5 separate regions of the Homo sapiens genome follow, and regions 2, 3, 4 and 5 are each linked to region 1. The links are contacts of gene promoters, found by promoter capture Hi-C in human tissues and cell types (Jung and others, 2019). All regions are on one chromosome and are shown on one strand. Each heading gives the region's core, a stretch centred on a gene start or on the middle of the fragment in contact. The rest is flanking DNA. Distances are from core to core; before and after follow the strand shown.

Region 1 (2,881 bases), core at 266-2,765:
TCCACTCTGCGCCCGGCCGAGTCTCGCCCCACGCGGGGAAGAGTGCGCCTCCGGGTCTGGACCGGGTTTCAGGAAGTTTGTGATCTCGTGTGGGGAGGCTCGGACGCCGCTTTCTACTGGGCTCCTGCAACTCCCAATTCCCGACCCACTGCACAAGCGCGGTGCTCCTCTGCGAATGCTGGGCTCGTGCAAACACGTGTAACCCCGCACTCCCTGGGGACGCCCCCTCTTTTGGGTGCCCTCGTGGTTTGGGATTCGGGCCCGGAGCACAGGATCCGGCAGGGCGCGGGAAAATGGGAGCAACCCGTGTCCCGTAGCCCAGAGACCGCGGGGAGGCTGGGAGCGCCGGGCGGGACGCAGGGTTGGGTGCGCGTCGCATCCCGGATACTCACCGGGACCTCTGCAGCTGCTCGAAGGCGCTGGTGCTGCCGCCCTGGCCTGGCTGCTCCAGGGAGCAGTAGTTCTGCGAAGTCGGCCTGGAGAAGGCGATGGGCAGGATTCCCTGAGTGAACGAGTTGAGGCGTCCCCGACTGCCGCTCCCACTCCCGGGGGTCCCGGAGCCCAAAAAGGCGGCCGCCGGCACCTGCACGCTGATAAAGGCATCGTCCTCCTCCAACTCCTCCTGCCCGGCGGCCCCGGACCCGTCGAGCAGCTGCAGTTGGGCACAGGCGGCGAGAGGCGCCGGCCGGGGCGGCTGCCACTGCTCCCCCGACGCCCGGCCGGCGCCCAGGGGACTCGCGAACCCCCGCGCCACCCCGGGGCCGGACACGGTCGCATGGCCGCCAGGAATCAAGGGCGGCAGCGACGAGGGCTGTGGGAGGCAGGGGCCGGACCCAGCGGCTAACCCCGCAGCCGGCGTGCCCGGCGCGGCGAGCGCGATGCAGCCGCCCCGCTCGGCAGCGGCGAGCAAGCTGAACCGAGTCCTCGCGCCGCAGGCGCCGCCGGCGCCCGGCTTGGCCGCGCCGCCCTCCTCGCCACCGCCCCACTCCGCGTCCTGCGGCGGCAGCCGGCCGTCCAGCGAGATGTTGGTGAGGAAGGAGAGGGCAGCCTGGCGGCGCCGCGGGTCCATGCGCGGCTTCCGGGGGGGTTCGGGCGGCGGCTGGGCCGGCGCGGCGGCCGCGGGCTGAGGCTGGGGCTGCGGCGGCGGCTGCTGCAATCCGCTGGCGCCCGCGGCGTCGGTGCCGGCGCTGCCGCTGCTGCAGGCGGCCGTGGTGGCGGCCGCCGCCGCCGCCGCCATTGTGTCCGTCTGCGGCGGGATTTCCGCGATGCCCGGAGAAGCGAGCGGCGCCCGAGCGCTAAGCGGCGGGCGCGAGCGGCGGCGACCCGGGCTGGGTAGGGCGCGGGGATCGGGCGGCGTGCGCGGCGGTCCAGCCCCCCCGCGGGCGGGCCATGCTCGCCCCTCGGTGCTGGGGATGGGGGCGCCGCCGCCCCGGCCCACGCGCACGCCTCGCTACCTAGCTCGGCTAGTTCGGCTCGCTGGCTGGCCGCCCGCCGGTCGCCTGGCCGCTGGCTCGCGGGCTCCGGGGCCGGGTGTCCGTATTTATAGGTGCGCGCGCCCCGCGCTCGCGCTCCAAAGCCCTCTTTGCAATAACACGGAATCACGTGTGGGGAATGCGACCTGGGAGGAAAACAAAGCCGCAGGCGGCGGCCGCAGAGGCAGACGGCGGGAGGCAAGGGGCCACGGGAGGAGGAAGAGGAGGACGCGAGAGCCGAGCGGGTGGTGGGGCGGGGGATCGGCCCGGCTGTCCGGGTTGTCGGAGCTGCCTGCTGGGAGAGTTGGCGACTCCCGGGGCCGCGGAAGCCAGGTGCGGGAGGCGAGCACGTTTCCCCCGCGCGCTCGCACTGGGAATTGGGTGAGCGAGCAGAACCCGGTGGGTTAGGTCCTGGGGCTGTGCTCCTGGGAGAGTTGTGGGTCTACAGGACGGTTATGTGGAGCGTTGCAGAGTTTTGGACTGCGAGCGAGTTACTTGGACCCCGCAAGGCCGTTGGTCCCCGAGAAGTAAATAGATCCTTTTCATAATAACACGGGTAAGTCCACAGCCCCTATGGAGACTGTCCCACCGTAAAGCTATCGCTAACAACCATTGCAGTTGGGTCTATTCATTCCCAGGCCAAGGATGCAGCCCCCGGGATAAATGCACGCCTTGGGATGCATAAGAGCCCAGAAGCACGAACATCTTACATGTGGCCAACGAACTCACGCATCCCCAATCCATGGTATTGTCACTTTTCATCTCTCTCTTAGCAAAGGACAACGCAAATTTTTTACTTTGGCTCTGAAATGTGCTCCATTTTCTGTGAAGACCCAGGTGGGCTAAAATGACCTTACACTCTTTTCCCCTGGTCACCTTGCAAATTTTTGTAGATTATGATCTCTTCTCCCTCATAAACTGGGACCAATGTGGACAGTTACCCTGTCGTTTATCTCATAAGCACGTTTGGCACCTACCATGTCTTCTATAAATACGGGTTCCTGACGGCCCTCCCAGAGCAGTAGCTCTGAATCTGGGAGGAGTCGCAGTCCCCACCCACAACGAATGCTTGTTTTGGTTGGGGGTGGGGGCGGGGGCGGGGACAGGGTGGAGGAGTTCACCTGGAGGGATCTGAAAACGTGTGCGGGTTTCCCCAGGCGGTATGGGCAACTTAACAAATGCAGTAAGGAACAATTGCCACACTGAATTAAGCTCTGTGACACCTAAGAAACCTGCTGCACTTTTGAGGGAGAAGCAATGTGTTTCAGATCAACGGATTAATTTAATTAAAGGTTTAAATTTAGCCCTGGAGCTAATGGGTAACTCTACATTGAAATTCCACTCCATTTCAAGTTCAGGAAAGTAAATTGAGTAATGGAGAGCAAATACACCGTCCAGAGAGGTGCCGC
Region 2 (2,881 bases), core at 258-2,757, 880 kb before region 1:
TCACAGGAGACTTCAAAGCAAGAAGTACTTAAACATGCAAGTACCTAAATCATCAACTAAAAAGGGTAAATTTGACTCTACAACTATCTCCATCCTTCTCTCATACGACACAAACTGGTAGTCTAAAAAAGGAATCATAGCACGGTACAGGAAATATTCACACCTTTTTTCCTGAGGGCTTCTTAAAAACTACAAAAGAGAAATTGTGTGACAAGTAAACCTTTTAAATCCCCCATCAACAGCCTTTGATGAAACTCCATCTTGAAACCAGACCTGTATGCTTTAAAAATGAAATGTTCTAAGTAAAGCGAAGTTGTTTTTACTTTCAGACCAAAGGGGGGAAAAAATCACCGATTTAAAAGTAAAAGGGCTTTAGTGAAAAGTTCACAGTTGTGAGATACTTGCTTCGCCATTAAGAAGGTGGAAGCTCTGCTGGGTAGAAACCACCATTCTCTGAGGTCTGAGACTTTAGGCATTCTCATTCTTACAGACTCTGTCTCCCGGTCACAGTTGTACATTGGTCCTCTCATTCCAACCAAACTACAGGGTCTCCATAGCGTGAAGCATGTGGTCCTTAAACGTGTTGGGGAAAGCTGCTAATCAACGTCCTTAAGGCTCGTCAACAATCAGACGGCAAATCACAAACTTGCTTCCTCAACCCGAGAACAAACACTCCAGGTCCCCAAAGAAATGAAGGTTCCTTCCACTCCCACAGGAAAACTACCAGGTTTCAGTTCTTTCGCTTTATTTTTTAAAAGACAAATAAAAAATTAACTGAACACACGTGTTTTCCTACCATTCTCATACTTTTTAAAAATCCCTCCATTTTCTTCCTTCCTTTATTTACGTTGGAAAAATTCTTAATAAATAACGCCTGCTTGAAAGACATCAGGAACTCATTTTGAGGACTGAGTTTGCAGAAGACAAGGCAGAGAGATGAGTGGGCAGAGTTGAGCTGAAATTTTTAAATTCCTGCACGGCAAAGCAATTGTGCGTATCTGTTTTCAAACAATAAAAGCGTCTGGAATTGCACAATGTTGCAGAGCCATGCGAGGCGCGAGGAGCAGGCAGCCGGAGGGCTCCGTGTCACAAAGGCTGCCGGGGCAGCACGCGAGCCAGAGTCACGACAAGCCCGGGTCCCAGGCTCGCTGCTGCCTCAAATCTCATCCGGTCCCAAAGCCAGCTGCCCTGCAGAGAGGAGCCTACCGGCACCGGGCACGTCTGTGGGAGGGCGAGGCTGGGAGAAAGTGAGAGGGGGACTGCGGGCGCGCGGGGCGGGCGCGCGGCGGGTCCCGGGAGGGAAAGGACAACGGAGCCGGGGGTAGGGGGTGGACGAGGAGATGTGGCAGAGGCGCATTCCCTCTGGCTGATCTTGCCAGGGAGGAGACCTGAGGACCGGAATCGGTGACCGACAGGAGGGGGAGGGGGCTCCCGGGGGCCGCAGGTCGAGGCGCGTGAGCCGGACACGAGGTGCGCGCTGCAGGGTTGGGGAATCGGGGACGCGTGGGTCACCTGTATTGTTTGAAAAGCTGGTCCGACTCCCTGAAGCCGTTGTTGAGCAGCATGTTGATGCCGGCCAGGGCCAGCTCCGCGTCCTGCAGGGGCGCCGCCGCCGCCGCTGCCGCGTCCGAGTCTCCGTCGTCCCGCCGCCGCGGCCGCTGCTGCTCCGAGCCGGCCATGGGCGTGCGAGGCCCTGCGCTGGGCCGAGGCGAGATCGGGAGCAGCTGCTGCGGCCCCGCGCGCGCCCGGAGCCCGGCTCTACCTGCCCGGAGCCAAGCGGAGCCGGGAGGGGAGGGGAGGGGAGGGGAGAAGACGGGAGGGAAGAGGAGGGAAGGACCGCGGAGGGAGGAGCCGCGGCCCGGCTGCGGCGCGGCGTGGGAGGTGGGCGTCCGGCCGCCGCCGCGGGGATTACTCAGCAGCACCCGCCCGCTCCTCTCGCGCCCTCCGAAGCACCCAACTCGCGCGGGCCCCGAAGCGGAATCCGTTTCCGGGTGTCTCTCACCCCGCCAAGCCGGTCCCCGAGCGGCGGCCGCCTCCACTTCCTGCAGCCCCCGCGCCCCGGCCCCTCCCGGGTCCCCAAGCCGCGCCTTCGCCCACCGCCCAGGACTGCTCGGACACACGCACGCGAGACCCGGAGACCCGAGCGCCCCACCCTCCCCCGAAGGGGCCGGACCCAGGAGTCGGGAGGAGGGCAAGGCGCGGAGGGAGAACGAGCGTGCGGATGTGGAAGGAAAGGGAAAGGGAAGGGGAACTCCGCCCGGGCCGCTATGCTAGCGCGCGGCGCTTTGTCCACGAGTAACTGAAACTCCACGAGTAACTGAAACCCCACGCAGCCCGCGCCCGCGACCCCAGACTTCATCCCGACCCTGGGGCCGCCCCCTAGGACCAGGGCAGCCAATTCCCGAGGAGGTGGGCGGCGGGGGCGGGGTCTCTGGCACCTGCCCCGCAGCTCCCCGGAGCCCCGCGCTGCGGGACTGCAAGGCAGAGCCCCTCGGATCCCGGTACCACCCACTCCAGCCCGCCACCAACATTTGCGCAGTGGGGCAGGAGGAGAAATGGAGGCCTATATGCCATGTGCCCAAATATTTAAAAGTTATAAATTCAGCTGCCAAAGTGTGTTCTATTCTCACACTGCCAATTATTCTTGCAAAGCTTTGGCGTTCATATGACCAAATGTCAGCAAAACATCAAAAGTGACTGAATTTAACCATTATCACAGAAGTCTCACTGTTCTGATGATGGGCTGGTGATATCTGGATGCCTAATATTCTAGAGACAAGCAATTCATAAATCATCTTTATGTTTTTTCCACAAATTTATTTTTCTCTAATTTAGCAAAATCCCTTAATGTAGTGTTGCAATCAAGATTATGCTCTAATGC
Region 3 (2,881 bases), core at 204-2,703, 690 kb before region 1:
AGAATAAAACATGTGCCATAGGAGACAGCGGCCAGATCGAGGCACATTTTTTGAAGACAAGGATGTTCAAATTTAAAAAGAAGCTAAAAATTGCTTCCAATCTGCCTCCTGGGTTATGGATTTATAAGAAGCTGTGTGAAGGTCAAATACTGCATGTTCTCACTTATAAATGGTAGCTAAGCAATGGGTACATATGGACATACAGAGTGTAATAACAGACACTGGAGACTATGAAAAGTGGAGGGATGGGAGGGGGTGTTGAAAAAGTACCTATTAGGTACAATGTTCACTATTTGGGTGATGGGTACACTAGAAGCCCAGACTTCACCACTATGTTATATATGCATATAAGAAACTTGTACTTGTACCCCTAAATATATAAAACTAAATAAATTTTTAAAAGAAGCTATGGAATTTGGGAACCAAAAATCAAATATGTGGCCTCATGACCAAGAACTGAGCTATGCCATTCATGGGGTCAATGTCTGAATCTCCTATCTTCAGTGTCATAACAATAGAGAAGGCACACTGTAATGCCTGCTCCTGGGCTAAGGATCCAGTGGACAGCTAAGACAATGCAAAATTAGCAGGCTGAAACAGATGCGAAAGAAGGAGAGGATAAAAACCTCTCATTCAAAATAAGCCAATATGCCTGTAAACAAAATTCAAAACACATAAATTGAATATTAAGAAAGACAGGTAACAAAATAATCAGAGATGAGTTCACTTCAGATGAGGTGAATTTTATGGAATAGTCTGAGAAAGACTTTAAATATACTGGCCCATGATCTGAAATCCCCAAACTCTGAAAAGGAAATAGGTTTTGTAACTGTTTTGGTGGCAAACCTAACCTAACCAATAATCATTTGCTGGCAAAGTCTGAACTAAACTGATATAAGTCTATGTATATAGTCAGTTAGTGTCTCCCTAGGTGTGCCTATTCATGCTTTTCACTGGAGAAATATTAACCTGTTTGATTATAGGGTATTATCCCAGACCTCACTGGAGATGTTATCTTTTTTCAAATCTTAAAAATTTTGAATTCTGAAATACACCTGGCTCCAAGGCCTTTAGGATACTAAAAAAGCTAAATGAAGAAGTAACTTCCACTTAAAAGTACATGAAGTTTTGAAACAAAAACTGGCAGAAAAGACAAGAAAAAATAAATATGATAAAGAGCCAATTGAAAAGTTTTAAAAGTATAAATTAAACTGAATCAATAAGCTGGATAATTTCTAGACCAGAGATAGTGAAATAAAATATTTCCGTATTGTAAAAGAGCCTTGAGGTCCTGCTGACTAGCTCTGTGCTATAGCTCTGGGTTAAATCAGAGGTTAGAACCTCCTAGATGAGTCATCAGCATCACTTCCTGGTGGTTGCCCCTTCTCAACGGTACCTCTTGTTGTCTAGGGAACACACACACACAAATACACACACACATACATATACCTGTATATGTACGTGTATGTGCATTTTATGTATATATGTATGTATGTACACCTATATACATGTATGTGTGTATGTGTGTATACACACATAGCATGTGTAGGGAGGGATACAGCAAACTTAGTATTAGAATGAAGTAGAGGGAAGATCATTTAGGTTTTTTATGCATATCTATATTGTTTTACTTGTTACAAGTAAATATTATTTCGTAGCATGAAAATTCAAATAAAATGAAGACTTTACTTAAGAAATATACTTAAAAACCTTTAACTGCTACCTTCAAAATGTTAGAAATGTAGTTTACAAAAATGTACACATCTAAAAGTTCAGTTACAATTAACTCCACATATATTTTCATCCCACAAATTTAATCCCCCAAATGAATATTTTCCTCAAAAGGACAAAACAGAGAATGTTACAGAGAGCAAAGAATAAAAATATAGTGGAGGAAGTCTTTCAGTGTCTTCATTTTGAAGTGTTGTGTATTCTTATTGTTATGGTTGATATCCTATAGCTCTAACTCGAATCTGAAATCAGTATGATCTTAAATTTGGTTCTGAAGTTCGAAGAACTCCTGGAAGAAAAGTAATACCAAGACCTGTAGTAACCTGTCCTCCAAGCCATGAGGTAGGTGCCAGGGGATGTAGAAGTTCCGGATTCTGAGCTCAAGGAATTCAGCTGCTACAAATTGCTTAGCCTAAGGGGTTGAACAGTCAGTGAGTGTGGTATCCTTTTAGGGTAAGCTGTGTCATTTCTGGACGCTTACTAGATTGAGTCTCATCTGTCTTTTAAGAGAAATCTTGCCCTGAATCATGTAGAACAGGATGCCCCCTTCTAAGTCCAGATAACCAAAAAGAAAGGATTCTATAGATGCCCACATCCCCTGCCATGTCTAGAAAGTGCTCAAAGAACAACCTGAACATGGCTCCATGTAGCGTACCATCCAGCCCCACCCTAAATCAGATAGTTCAGCAAATGTTGATAAACACCTCTGAGAAATTCTTCCAGGTTCCCCTGAATTTGAGAAGCAACTGTGGCCAAGTATTTTTAGCAGATACAGATGGGGAGGTAGTAATAACTTTGATAATAAATAAAAGGCTGGCCCACCTCTCTCCCGCTGAGGTCCACCATGACAGGGTGTGCAGGTGTGGGCTGCCTCACTGCCACGGGTCTTGGCTCCCCATCAAGCAGGAAGTGTCTGGCCTCACAAGCCAGGGTACAGGGGAATCTGGTCACTGGCAAATGCTGGTAGAGTAAGCAACTTCAACAACAGCAACAACAATGGAATCAATAGTTACAACTGAGAACATCAAACGGAATATCAAAGTACATCCCCAAAGACTCTCAGTCATTCAGTTCACTCATTCATTCATCATCCTTCAATAAACTCTTATTAAGTGTCTGCTACAAGAATTAAGCAATAAATTTTCATCTG
Region 4 (2,881 bases), core at 154-2,653, 570 kb before region 1:
TAAGGACTTTCTTAAAGTACAGTAAGATAATTCTAAAATTTATATGAAACTTTAAAGGACCAAGATATTGCTGAAGAAGAAGACCGGGAGGAGGAAACTTGCCCTTCAAGGAATCGGGGCTTATTATGAAGCTATTGTAATTAAGGAAAGGCAAAATGAGACAAACAGACCTATCGGACAGAACAGGCAGCCCATGCATTTAAGAAGCTTTAGTATATAACATAGGTGGTATGTCAGACCGCTGGGAAAGGAAGGAATATTCTAGATCCAGGGGGAAATAATAAAATCAGAGTTCTACTCAAGTCGCAAATGCAATTCAACTTCAGATGAAGTAAGGACTTATATGTGAAAAATAAAACTTCAAACTCTCATAGTAGAAAAAAAGGTGTCTACCTTTTAGAACTGAGAGCAAGGAAAGGTTTCTTAACCAAAGATACAAAAAGCGTTGACTACAAAAGAAGAGATGGATAAATCTGACTATGTTAAAATTAAGAATTTTGCTTCCTTTAGCTGGGCATGGTGGCACATGCCTGTAACTGAGACACGGGAATTGCTTGAGCCTGGGAGGTGAAGGTTGCAGTGAGCTGAAATTGCACCACTGCGCTCCATCCTGGGCGACAGAGCAAGACTCTGTCTCAAAAAAAAAAAAAAAGAATTTTGTTTCCTTGAGCCCAGGGAGTTGGTGACAGCCTGAGCAACATAGTGAAACCTTGTCTCTACGAAAAATAAATAAATAAATAAATAAAATATGTATAAAGAAGTTTGCTTCATCAAAGACACCTTTAAAAAGTGAAAAGTTAAAACTAGAAGATATTTACAATGCAAAAGTGATAAATAGTCTCCAATGATGACTGCCATCAATTCCTTCTCTCTCTCTCTGTGCCTGCCATTTCACCCATCAAAAGGTGGATGCTGTTTGCCCTGGAGGCTAGTCTCTGCTCTTGAATCCAGACTGACTTGATTGTTTGCTTTGTTATAGCAGATGTGTCATTCTGGGACATTCAAGCTTAGGCCTTAAAAGGGCTAGAAGATTCTGCTTCCTTCCTCTTGGAAGCCAGCAGGCAAGAAGTCCAACCACCCAGAATCACCATTCTGTGAGAAAGTCCAAAATAGCCAACTGGAGAGGACAAATGGGAGAGCACCAAGCTACCTTGTATGTTAGCGAGGCCTTCTTAGGCCATCCAGTCCATCCTAGCCACCAGCTGAATGCAACTAAGTGAGTTACCCCAACTGACAACCCATGGAGCAGAAGAATCAACCAGCTGAACCCAGTCAACCCACAGAATTGTGAGAGAAAAAACTGTTTTTGTTTTTGTTTTTTTTGAGACGGAGTTTCACTCTTGTTGCCCAGGCTGGAGTGCAATGGTGCGATCTTGGCTCACTGCAACCTCTGCCTCCAGGGTTTAAGTGATTCTCCTGCCTCAGCCTCCTGAGTAGCTGGGATTACAGGCATGTGCCACCACGTCCAGCTAATTTTGTATTTTTAGTAGAGACGGGGTTTCTCCATGTTGGTCAGGCTGGTCTCGAACTCCTGACCTCAGGTGATCCGCCCACCTTGGCCTCCCAAAGTGCTGGGATTACAGGTGTGAGCCACCGCACCTGGCCAAAACTGTTGTTGTTTTAAGCCCCTAAGTTTTGGGGGTAGTTTATTACACAAGAATCAATAACTGATCAAAGAACTTAAAATCAACGAAGAACTCTCAACAGAAATACATACCAAATTCCTAACAATCCTACAAATCAATAAGAAAAATATAAATAGTTCAATGGGAAAACGGGCAAAAGTAGGCATTTCACAGAAGAGGAAACACATATAAACACAATAAACATAATAAGCATTTCAAGAAATGTTCACCATCACCATCATTAGTGATCAAGGCAGACCACAATGCAATATTATTTTATACGTATTCAGTAGACCCAAGTTTAAAGTTTGATGATAACCAGAGTTAGAAAAGACATAGTAGGAGTATAAATTGGTACAAAAACTTTGGAAACTGTTTTAGTATTACCACCTAAAGTTGAAATTCACATTTCCTATGATACGGCATTCTACTCTCAAACTCATAAACCAAAAAGAAACTCTTGCACAAATTTGATGGTATTATATTCAACACTATTCACAGCAGCACTGTTCATAAGAGCAAAATCCTGGGAATAACCTAATTGCCCAGCCACAGGAGGGTGGATGAACTAACAGTGGTATATTCACACAATTAATAACTATATAAGCAATAATGAGTAAATGAATATATACAATGAAACAATATGGATGAAACAATATTGATGAATCTCAGCAATATAATATTAAGTGAAAAAAGCATGATATACTTTTTATAAAGTTATGAGCAAGCAAAATAAAAAGCACCTACTTTTTCGAAATACGTACAGATGTAATAAAAACTATACTAAAAAAGCAAAGTATTAATAAAAGATTTGGGATGATTATTTCCCCAGAATGTAAGAGACAGAGGGAATGGGGGTGGGCAGACCATACATTTAGACATAAATTATTATCCAAGCTCTATGTTTGGTTTTGGTAGCAAGTTCATGAATGCTTATTACTATTTAAAATACATATATAGGCCAGGCACAGTAGCTCACACCTGTAATCCTAGCACTTTGGGAGGCCAAGGTGGGAGGATTGCTTGAGCTCAGGAGTTCAAGACCAGCCTGGGCAACATGGTGAAACCCCGTCTCTACAAAAAATACAAAAATTAGCTGGGCATGGTGGCATGCATCCCAGCTACTTGGGAAGCTGAGGTGGAAGGATTACCTGAGCCTGGGAAGTCGAGGCTGCAGTGAGCCATGATTGCATCACTGCACTACAGCCTGGGTGATGGAGTGAGACCCTGTCTCAAATATATGTGTATGTGTGTGT
Region 5 (2,881 bases), core at 229-2,728, 530 kb before region 1:
TCACTTCAGCCTGGGCAAAAGAGCGAAACTCCATCTGAGAAGAAAAAACAAACAAACAAACAAAAAACTATTAAAGCAAAACCTCTGATGCTTGATTTTTATATAATAACGTTGTGTGGCAACTTAAAAACTGTGTCATTTATAGGCACTCAAGGCAAGGAAAATGTTTAGAGTCCTTATTTTTAAAATTGGAATTTTCTATAAAAGTTCAGAATGTTTTTAATTTAAAGTTGTTTTAAGCACAAAGTAATACAATTTATCCATGAAGGTTAAACATTTTAATTTTTATCATTAACTTTTATTTGTAATTGTTTTCTACCTTTTAAATTAAATATTCGTTACAAATTTAATTGAGAAGAGGGAAGGAGGGGGAGAATGAATGAGTGGATTCTTATAGTTTGAGGGGGTAAGACCTCCATTTTTATACTATTTTTTTGTTTTGTTTTTATTTTTATTTTTGAGGCAGAGTCTTGCTCTGTTGCCCAGGCTGGAGTGCAGTGACCGAATCTTGGCTCACTGCAGCCTCAACCTCCCAGGTTCAAGCGATCCTCCCACCTCAGCCTCCCGAGTAGCTGGGACTACAGGTGCGCACCACCACGCCTGGCTAATTTTTGTATTTTTAGTAGAGATAGAGTTTTGCCATGTTGGCCAGTCTGATCTCGAACTCCTGGACTCAAGTGATCTGCCCGCCTTTGGCCTCCCAAAGAGTTGGGATTATAGGCGTGAGCCACTATGCCTGGGCTACTTTTTTACTTTCACTTTTCTAAAATGCTCTCAAAGAGCTGTTGTTGCCGTTTATACTTAAAACTCCCAGTTTTACTTCGCCCAAACCAATCCTGGGCAGGCAGCAGGAGTGGACACACATACTGCAATACTCCAGGGCTGCAGCATCAGACCCAGAGGAGGAGGGAACTGCTGGATTAATAACGCGGAGGAGGAGGAGGGGTATGAGTCTATTCCAAAATTGGCCTTTGCCCTTCAAAGAGGAAAAGACCACTTATTGTTTGTGCAATCAAAAGGTTTGTTTCCTAGATATTTTCCCCAGGAGAAAAAAGTTTCCCAGGAAACCGAGAAAGAAATTATAACGAAAATAGCTATTGGATGAATTTTTTCCTCAAGCTTCATTTTTACATCATTATAATATTTGTGCTGTAATGAAGGTTGGGAGTCCTCTGGGGCAGACCAGTCTATTTGGGAGGATATGTATGGAGTTTGTGTGTGAGTACATGCGGGTGAGTGGGCGTGAGTGTGGAAAGTATGTGTGTGGAACCTCTGTGTGTGTGGAATGTGGAGCGTATGCACAATGTGTGTGGAGTTTGGAGTGTGTGTGTGGACGAGTGAGTGTGGAAGTGTGGACGTGTGTGGAAAGTGCACAGTGCGTGCGGAGTTTGGGGTGTTTGTGCACGCGCGTGTGTGGCAGGTCCTGGAGCGCGTCCACGCGACACCCCATGTGTAGTGTGCGCGCGCGCGCGCCCCCGCGCCGCCCCTTCGGCCCGGCCCTGTGTGCGGCGGCTGCTGCCGGGCCGGGCGGCGGGAGCGCGCGGCGTCGGAGGCCGCCCCTCTGCGGAACGCCGAGAGCCCCGGGAGAGTGAAGGGCCGGGGAGGACAAGGCGCCCCGGGCCCAAAGCGCGCCGGCTCCCGCTCGGGCGGCCGCGGACATGTGCAGGATGTCCTTCAAGGTGAGCGACCGGGACTCCGGGGTCAGGGCTGGGGCCGGGCTCGGGCGGCCGGGCCCGCGGGGTCGGGTGGGGTGGGATGGGGTGGGATGGGGTGGGCGCTGCCCGCTGCCCGCCGCCTCCTCCTTCCTCTCTCCTCCAGCTGCGGGCGAGGCCCGGGAGGAAGCGGCGGGGCTGGGTGCGCCCTGTGGGTTTGCGGTTTGCCTGCCTGCCCTGCCTGAGAGGCTTCGCACTCATGGCTGTGGATCGGCTGAGTCTGTGCCCGGCGACGGGGCGGCGGGGACTGTCGCCGGGTAACAGGTCGGGGGCGGGTAAGAAGCCTGGGGTCAGCGCTGTCCTGCAGCAGAAGGAGTCCCCGACCCTGACCCTCTGGGTCCTCATGCAGGAGTACCAGCTGCACCCACGGATGCCTCCTCCCCGGAGGGGTGGCCAGCACCCAGGGAGGCTTCAGGGTCCAAAGGTGTCTTGTCTCAAAAGAGTTGATTAAAGTCATTCCATCTAATCCCCACATTTTAGGATGAAAGAGGTTGATTTGCCTCGATTGAAAGGGTTTAATAAAAATAGCAGTTAAAATGTATTAAACAGTTCAAATGTGCCTGACTCTGAACCAAGGACATGGTGTGTATGGTCTCAACCCTGGGGGAGACCTGTGGGAGGTGCTCTTCGTGGCTCTTTTTTTTTTTTTTTTCAAATGAGAAAACTAAGATATAGAGAAATTAACTCACCCACGGTTTTGCAGCCAATAAGTTATGGTGTTAAGACTGAAACCCAAGTGTGTCTGACTCCTAAGCCACTGTAATCCCGTTGCCGACAATAGCTCATGTAAGCAGAGGAGTGACATGGCGAGATGTGCATGTTGCAAAGATCTCTGGCTAGGTTTGGAGAAGAGGGTTGGAGCTGGAAGATGTTGTCATCTTTTTAAGAAATGGTACTGGACCAGTGCATAGGTGGTGAGAATGGAACGAAGCAGACGAATGTGAATGACTTTAAAGTTTTTTTTCCTGAGACGGAGTTTTGCTCTTGTTGCCCAGGCTGGAGTGCAATGGTGTGATCTCAGCTCACTGCAACTTCCGCCTCCCGGGTTCAAGCTATTTCTCCTTCCTTACCCTCCAGAGTAGCTGGGATTACAGGCGTGCGCCACCATGCCCAGCTAATTTTTTCGTATTTTTAGTAGAGACGGGGTTCTGCCATGTTGGCGAGGCTGG

The links. The method cuts DNA at HindIII sites, captures the fragments that hold promoters and counts their contacts. A contact is called where the count stands out against the background at its distance.
Region 2: a contact is called between a fragment that was not itself captured here and the fragment with the promoter of CABLES1 in region 1, in 1 of the 25 tissues and cell types used here (lymphoblastoid cells).
Region 3: a contact is called between a fragment that was not itself captured here and the fragment with the promoter of CABLES1 in region 1, in 1 of the 25 tissues and cell types used here (dorsolateral prefrontal cortex).
Region 4: a fragment that was not itself captured here is called in contact with the fragment with the promoter of CABLES1 in region 1 in 1 of the 25 tissues and cell types used here (IMR-90 fibroblasts).
Region 5: the fragment with the promoter of ANKRD29 here is called in contact with the fragment with the promoter of CABLES1 in region 1 in 1 of the 25 tissues and cell types used here (psoas muscle).

Annotation. Positions count from the first base shown.
Region 1 is chr18:23,134,119-23,136,999 of GRCh38, reverse strand. It overlaps CABLES1 (Cdk5 and Abl enzyme substrate 1), which reads right to left and starts at 1,515. Exons shown (of 10, transcript NM_001100619.3): 1 at 393-1,515. The coding sequence starts at 1,237. RefSeq lists silencers at 647-896, 997-1,206, 1,337-1,546, 1,667-1,746, 2,507-2,616 and 3 more and an enhancer at 2,167-2,316. The HindIII fragment of the contact is 17,284 bases long and covers 1-2,881 here.
Region 2 is chr18:24,013,670-24,016,550 of GRCh38, reverse strand. TTC39C (tetratricopeptide repeat domain 39C) reads right to left here and starts at 1,797. Exons shown (of 14, transcript NM_001135993.2): 1 at 1,513-1,797. The coding sequence starts at 1,679. TTC39C-AS1 (TTC39C antisense RNA 1) reads left to right here and starts at 1,091. Exons shown (of 6, transcript NR_110796.1): 1 at 1,091-1,247. RefSeq lists silencers at 1,381-1,560, 1,641-2,560. The HindIII fragment of the contact is 6,499 bases long and covers 1-2,881 here.
Region 3 is chr18:23,827,140-23,830,020 of GRCh38, reverse strand. It overlaps LAMA3 (laminin subunit alpha 3), which reads right to left. Exons shown (of 75, transcript NM_198129.4): 23 at 2,554-2,707. Among named protein-coding and RNA genes, the nearest start is that of LAMA3, 140 kb to the right of the region's middle. The HindIII fragment of the contact is 6,884 bases long and covers 1-2,881 here.
Region 4 is chr18:23,705,521-23,708,401 of GRCh38, reverse strand. The region is part of intron 1 of LAMA3 (laminin subunit alpha 3); the gene reads right to left. Among named protein-coding and RNA genes, the nearest start is that of LAMA3, 18 kb to the right of the region's middle. The HindIII fragment of the contact is 4,278 bases long and covers 1-2,881 here.
Region 5 is chr18:23,661,508-23,664,388 of GRCh38, reverse strand. ANKRD29 (ankyrin repeat domain 29) reads left to right here and starts at 1,478. Exons shown (of 10, transcript NM_173505.4): 1 at 1,478-1,679. The coding sequence starts at 1,659. The HindIII fragment of the contact is 14,259 bases long and covers 1-2,881 here.